Linked DNA regions of Homo sapiens: region 1 is linked to region 2. The links are contacts of gene promoters, found by promoter capture Hi-C in blood cells and fetal thymus (Javierre and others, 2016). All regions are on one chromosome and are shown on one strand. The core of a region is centred on a gene start or on the middle of the fragment in contact, and the rest is flanking DNA. Distances in the headings are between cores, read along the strand shown. Region 1 has its middle 2.7 kb from the start of CHAF1B. Region 2 holds the start of PIGP (phosphatidylinositol glycan anchor biosynthesis class P).

Region 1 (3,416 bases), core at 75-2,574, 690 kb before region 2:
TTTTGTGGGAAATGCTATTTGAAGATAATAATCTAGGCACAGATATAGTCATTGTTTCTAGTTAGGCCATTTCTTTTTCTTCTTCTTCTTTTTTTTTTTTTTTTTTTTTTTTCTTTTGCGACAGGTCTTGCTCTGTTGCCCAGGCTGGAGTACAATGGCATAATCATAGCTCACTACATCCTCAAACTCCTGGGCTCAAGTGCTTCGCCTTCCTCAGCCTCCCAAGTACCTGGGACTATAGGTGCATGCCACCATGCCTGGCTGATTTTTTTTTTTTTTTTCTAGATACGGAGTCTTGCTACGTTGCCCACGCTGGTCTTGAACTCCTGGGCTCAAGTGATCCTCCTGCTTCAGCCTCCCAAAATGTTGATATTACCGGCATAAGCCACTGTGCCTGGCCTAGTTTGGGCATTTCTAGGCCTTTTTAGTAGACTGAACTAAAAGAGACTATAATATAGTCTCTTTTGCTGAAAATCTGGGTTCCTAACCACACAAGTATTTGCTCTTCCTAATGTATACATAAATACATAGGTATGCATATATGTAACAATACCAATATTTTCTAGCCATAGTATGACTGAAGGTAAGCTTTCTTTGGGGTAGTATAAAATTTCTGTGTTTGCCAATCACTTGAAATAATAACTCCTTGTGTGCATCACACACATCCATGTTGCTGCCTGTGTCAGTCAGTGTAGAGTTCTCCAGAAAATCGGAGCCCAATATGATAGATGCAAGAGATTGATCAGGAGGAGTGGCTTAAGTGGTTATGGAGTCTGAGAAGTCCCATGATCTGCTGTCTGCAAGATGGAGACCCAAGAAAGCCTGTGGTATAACTTAGTCCCACTCCAAAGCCCTGAGAACCAGGGACACCAGTGGCATAAGTCCTGGAGTCAAAAGACCTGAGAACCAGGAGCTCTGATGTCTGAGGGTGGAAGAGGATGTCCCAACTCAAGAAGAGACAGAATTTGCCCTTCCTCTACTTTTTGTTCTTTTCAGACTCAACAGGTTGGATGATGCCCCAGATACTGCCCAGGTTGGTGAGGGCGGATCTTCTGTACTCAGTCTACTGATTCAAATGCTAAAGTCTTCCAGAAACACCCTCATAGTCAGAAGTAATGTTGACCACCTATCGGGTATGTCTTAGCCCGGGCAAACTGAGGCATAAAATTAACTATCACAGTATTTCTTTTGGATTACCGAGTAGAATACCGTGGTATGAATATGGCACAGTCTGATTACCTTTTCTCCTGTGGGTGGACATTTGGTGTCTTTCTAGTTTGGGGCTATTATGGATAATGATTCTTGTATGAGTTTGCTTTTGTTTTCCTGATATATATGCCAAGGAGTGGAATTGCTGAGTCATAGGGTAGGCGTATCATTAACTTTATTAGACAGTGCTGAACAGTTTTCTAAAGTATTTACATCAGTTTACACTTCCACCAGTAGTGTGCCAGAGGTCCCGTTGTTCTCAATCTCCTGTATTGATTTCCGTCATTTCTATTTTTCTTTTTCTTTCTTTTTTTTTTTTTTTTTTTCAGACTGAGTCTGTTTCTGTCGCCCAGACTGGAGTGCAGTGGCATGATCTTGGCTCACTGCCCTCTGGGTTCAAGTGATTCTAGTGCCTCAGCCTCCGAGTAGCTGGGATTACAGGCGCCACCACCATGCCTGGCTGTTATTATTATTATTATTATTATTATTTTTGAGATGGAGTTCTGCTCTTGTTGCCCAGGCTGGAGTGCAATGGCGCAATCTCGGCTCACTGCAATCTCCGCCTCCCAGGTTGAAACGATTCTCTGGCCTCAGCCTCCTGAGTAGCTGGGATTACAGGTGCCTGCCACCGCGCCTGACCTATTTTTTCTATTTTTAGTAGAGATGGGGTTTCACCATGTTGGCCAGGCTGGTCTCAAATTCCTGACCTCAAGTGATCCGCCCGCTTCAGCCTCCCAGATGCTGCAATTACAGGCGTGAGCCACTACGCCTGGCTTCTCCTAGTTTTCTTATTCTGATATTTGCTCAACATTTTTTTCCAACCCTGTACTGAATTTTGTATGTCTGTTATCAAAGCTTTTTTTTTTTTTTTTTTTGAGACAGAATCTCACTCTGCCACCCAGGCTGGAGTGCAGTGGTGCCATCTCAGCTCACTGCAACCTCCAAGTCCCGGGTTCAATGGATTCTCTTGCCTCAGCCTCCCTAGTATCCCGAGTAGCTGGGATTACAGGCACACACTACCACTCTGTATAGTTTTTGTATTTTTATAGAGAAGGGGTTTTGCCATGTTGGCCAGGCTGGTCTGGAACTCCTAGCCTCAAGCAATCTGCCTGCTTTGGCCTCCCAAAGCGTTGGGATTATAGATGTGAGCCACCATGCCCGGCTCAGATTTTGATTTTAGAATGTTCACACTTACAAATGGAAATTAAAATGCCTTGAGAAGTTTTTTTTCGAAGCTGAGTTAAGAGTTAGTCCCTTTATATCAATTTTCATTATTAAAAAGTTCTCAGGAACCAAATAACATTGGTCCCCTTAAATTGAGGCAGTTCTGCTCAAAATGGATGCTTGGGGCCCAAGCTGAACAACAGTGGTTGTTGAGGAATCTAGTTAGAATTGCGTTATAGGAATTCCCTTTTTTTTTTTTTTTTTTTTTTTTGAGACAGAGTCTCGCTCTCTCGCCCAGGCTGGAGTGCAGTGGCACGATCTCGGCTCACTGCAAGCCCCGCTTCCCGGGTTCACGCCATTGTCTTGCCTCAGCCTCCCGAGTAGCTGGGACTACAGGCGCCCGCCGCCACGCCCGACTAATTTTTTGTAATTTTTGTAGAGATGGGGTTTCACCATGTTAGCCAGGATGGCCTCGATCTCCTGACCTCATGATCCGCCCACCTCGGCCTCCTAAAGTGCTGGGATTACAGGCGTGAGCTACCGCGACCGGCAGGAATTCTTTAGTCCAACATTTGTGGTGCAAACTTTGAGGTTTTGAACAAATACTTTTTTTTTTTTTTTTGAGAAAATATTTGACAGCCCAGGGCCTCTCTCTAGAGCCGCATCCCCTGCCCGTGTTGGCTCATCAAGTTGGCACTGAAGTCGGATCTCTAAAATGTTCGCCAAGAAAGCCAACTCCTTCATGTACTTTTAATACTTAAAGCATGTGTTTTTATCTTTTAAATCCACAGTTCAGAGTCGTGACACTTCAAGAGGTGGGCAGATTATTCATTTGTGAATGAACAGCATTTATGAGAAATTTGGAGAAATTTTATGTTTGAGAGACACGAAGAATCCAGAGCTTTCCAAAACAGACTGATGATCACACCCACCGGGGAGTTTATGAAAATGCAAGCCCCTGGAGCACGGGCCTCTGCTGGATATTCGGAATCATGGGGCTGAGTAGGGCCAGGAATCTGTACTTTTAGAACAGCCATATTATC
Region 2 (3,878 bases), core at 1,185-3,684:
CCCGGCATGAGAATGAAGACTCAAAGCAGGGCATTTTTGGCTGTTTTGGTCCTTCCTGGCCTGTAACAGTGCCTGGCACATGGTAAGCACCAATAAATACTTGAATTACTTTTTGGTTGTGGGTATGATGGAATTTAATTTTGTTTTGAGACAGTTTCGCTCGTTGCCCAGGCTGGAGTGCAAAAGTGCAATCTCAGCTCACGGCAACCTCCGCCTCCCGGGTTCAAGCGATTCTCCTGCCTCAGCCTCCCGAGTAGCTGGAGTTACAGGCATGCGCCACCATCCCGGCTAATTTTGTATTTTTAGTAGAGACAGGGTTTTTCCATGTTGGTCTGGCTGGTCTCAAACTCCCGACCTCAGATGATCTGCCTGCCTCGGCCACCCAAAGTGCCGGGATTACAGGCGTGAGCCACCAGGCCGGCCAGAATTTAAGCCTTAAAGTGATTGCTTTTATTTATTCATATAGCTTCTAATCCTTGACATACTCTTTGAACAAGGATTTACAAAAGTGCTAACAATAACATCAGTAGCTAACACTTATTAAGTCCCTAACTGTTCCTAGGCATTATTTTACGTGCTTTACATAAATTACCCCCGTTAATCCTCACAACAGTCAGAAGAGGCAGCAGAGTGAAGTCAGCCAGTGTATTTGGGTTCAAATTTAGAAGGCTTTTATTTAGTAGCTTTGCAATCTTGAGCAAGTTACTGAAACCACAGGATGCTCATCTTTAAAGGACAGTAATAACAGAACCTACCCCATAGAACTGTTTCATGCGTCATAAGCATTTAATAACCATCATTATCACTACCCTTTTACAGATAAGGAACCTGAGGCTCAAAAAATTTGCTGAGGGTCCCAGCTCACATGGCTAATCTGTGGAGGAGTCAGAATTCGAACTCAGTTGTAACTTCTTCACTTCACTTCAGTTTTAATAGCCTGGCCATTACATTCATCTGCAAGCTGTGCTGATGGTGCAGGCTGATATATTTTAGTTAGGGTTCAGAAGTACTACCACTCCTCCACTTTCCTGGTTTCCAAACAGTTGCAGAACGTTGGATCACGGGCACTCAATTTTCTCCCTTTTGTGTGCCTCAAAATTCTCAAATCATTTTGGGGAGAGACTTGGGACTTGCTGTGTGAGTGGGCATATTAGTGTCTTAGTGAGCATCAGTCTCCTTATCTGTAAAATGGAATGTTATGGGGTTAAATTAAGGGAGATCCAGGACGCAAACGACACACCTTTCAACCCGACTTCTCTGGCCTACTTCTCCTGTTCCCCAGATCCCGCAGGGCACACTGGTGACATCACAAGCTCCTCGGGTCCAAACCCTCTCACGCCCTCATTCAAGGCCTTTCCACTTCTTCCCTCCCTCTTACTCTTTCCTAATCAGCATCAGTGCCAGGGGGAAAGGCCTCTGTAGAAAGCCTTGACTTTCCAGTCTGGTTTCAATGTCTCTCCACCGTGCTCCCTGACACTCATCACACTGAGCATTAACTGTAGATTTACCCATCTGTCTCCTCCACAAGACCACGACCTCCTTAAGGGCAGGGACCAGGCTTTATCCACTTTGCCATCGCGTCTGGTGCTGTATAAATATTTGTAGAGACTAAAACCTCCTAGGCTAGTGCTGGCACACGGAACACTCAGCAAACACGAGATCCCTTCAGATTTTCTTAAAAAGAGACATAGGGAGAAAGAATCAACAGTTCATGTGTGCACAGTCTAACCAATGTATTCTTCCCTTGTCACTGAACGCCAGAAAAAGCCCCTGGCCATCCATCAGGAAAGTACTTACTGAAGCCAAATTGGGAGCTTAAGAAAAGAACAAAGCCATAAATCGCTCTTTCTGGCAATGGCGACGGTGAATTTTCCACCATTTTTCCTGGGGCTTTAGACAATCTGTGGAAAAGGAACACAATCAGCGTCAGCGATGTGCTCCGTGGCACCATTGATCCATTCTCGCCTCCTCGCTCCGCCGCGGGTACGGCCCCCGCCGCGCAGAACCGCCTCCCGCGCCTCCGTCCGCAACCCGCGCCCCCGCCTCGAGCGCATACAGACACCCAGGCTGGCGCGCGCCCCGCAACAGAAGGGGTGGCGGAGGATAGGGCAGGGAGGGGGGTTCTGGGGCGATAGACGCGCGCTCCAGCTCTGCAAGCGTGGCCTCCCTGTGGGAGGGGAGGGCAGGGAACAAGGCTCGCGCGGCGCCCACCAGCATGCGGGCCTACTAGGTCGCGGCGCCCAGGCCCCGGGCCCTGCCCATTCGTGGAGACTTCTATTTCTCATTCGAGGCGGGGTATGGGGGGGCCCTCGACCTCGGGTCCTTCATACGCCCACCCAGGCCCCTCCCGACACCTCGGCCACCTCAGCGCTGAGTTCTCCGCGCAAGCGCCGACTGGGGAGCCGCAGTGGGGAAGAGGAAAACCTGAGGGAAAGGCCTAGGCGCGACGGCAACCCCCACCCTGGCGCAGGCGCACAACGACCCTCCCCGGGTGGGAGCCAGCGAGCGCGGGGGCGGGCGTGATCCCGCGGCTCGCGACGGCGAAGGAGGGGGCGGTGGGGTGCGACTGCGCACGCGCGCTGCCAGCCCACGTGACGCACCTCGCTTCAACGCCGCCACCCGCTCCCTCCCGCCGTCGGCTGACGTGGAGGGCCGGAGGTGGCGGCGGCGGCGGCGGCGGCTGCTGCTGCTGCTGCCCGCGTCCGAGGCTCGCGGGCGGCGGGCCCGGGTGAGTGCACACCCGGCGCGCTGCCGGGCTCCCGGATGTGTCACCTTGTCCCGCTGCAGCCGAGATGCCGGGGGAGCGGGGCCTTCCACACCCCCTCCGTGGGTGTGTGGTGAGTGTGGGTGTGTGCGCGTCTCCTCGCGTCCCTCGCTGAGGTGCCTACTGTGTCTGCATGGGTTGGGTCCCGCGCGATGAGGGGGTGTGGCCGCCATTGCCTACCCCAGTGGGTTTGCCCCCTTGGTCTGGTGCCCCTTCGCGAGCGAGGCCCTGGGATGCCGGTGCGAGGGTGTGAGTAGTCCCTTTGTGCGCAACCCCCCGCTGCCCGTGCCTCGGCCGGTGCGTGGCTGACACCTCCGCTGGGTGGAGGCGCTCGCGTGTCGCCTCGTCGCCCCTTTTGTGTCGGTGTCCGCGCTCCCTGGCGGCTGCGTGGGCGCTCTCGGCCTTGCAGGTGGCCCCCCTTTGTGTTACTGCCCCTGTCTGTGGGCTGCGCGTCCCCTAGCGCGCGTGGCCGCGCCTTCTGCAATTGCGACCCCCGCCTAGAGCCTTGCTCGCGCAAGTGTGCGTCCTTGCGTGTCTCCGAGTGACGCAGAGTGTCTGCGCATGGGTCCTGTTGAGTGCGTGATCTCTTGTGTGCGGATTTAATTCTGTCGAGTGGGTATCTCTTGTGTGCAGGTTTCGTTGGTGAGCGTGAACGTTCGTGCACACCCCTTGCTGTGTGTGCGTGTCACGACTCTGTTGCCACCTGTTTTCGTGTGAACTGGCAGTCCAGTCCAGGGCCTGTCCCCACGGAACGGACCCAGGAGGGGGGTAACCTCGCCGCTCCCCTCGCCCCCGCGCCTCTTTCTGAGCATTCTCTCCCACAGACGCTAATGGGAAGGGGGGTGGACAGGATCGAGTCTGGCCAGCTGCTCCGCAGTGTTGACGCTGCCAGTGTGGCCTCTTCAGCCAGCCTGTTCAGGAGACAGAATAGGGGGATCAAAGATAAAAAATGAAGCCGAGACGTAGGTGAATTTGGGCTGGTACCAGTGCGCCGTGCCTTTTCCAGTGGCGCCCTGGACGCCAAAACCCCCTCAGTTGCAGAGACCTTTCAAAATATATGCACTCTCCTACTGGGCGATGCGGTCCTTAGGCGTTCTTGATGATATTTAATGGT

What was found. Contacts are between HindIII fragments. The CHiCAGO score rates a contact against its expected background, and 5 or more counts as called.
Region 1: a fragment that was not itself captured here is called in contact with the fragment with the promoter of PIGP in region 2 in 1 of 17 cell types (M2 macrophages); the score reaches 5.3 in M2 macrophages.

Annotation. Positions count from the first base shown.
Region 1 is chr21:36,381,023-36,384,438 of GRCh38, forward strand. No RefSeq gene overlaps it. Among named protein-coding and RNA genes, the nearest start is that of CHAF1B, 2.7 kb to the right of the region's middle. The HindIII fragment of the contact is 1,476 bases long and covers 587-2,062 here.
Region 2 is chr21:37,070,637-37,074,514 of GRCh38, forward strand. It overlaps PIGP (phosphatidylinositol glycan anchor biosynthesis class P), which reads right to left and starts at 2,435. Exons shown (of 5, transcript NM_153682.3): 1 at 2,364-2,435; 2 at 1,798-1,901. The coding sequence starts at 1,879. It overlaps TTC3 (tetratricopeptide repeat domain 3), which reads left to right and starts at 2,618. Exons shown (of 46, transcript NM_001330683.2): 1 at 2,618-2,837. RefSeq lists silencers at 1,906-2,185, 2,426-2,745, 2,966-3,025 and an enhancer at 2,333-2,627. The HindIII fragment of the contact is 9,103 bases long and covers 1-3,878 here.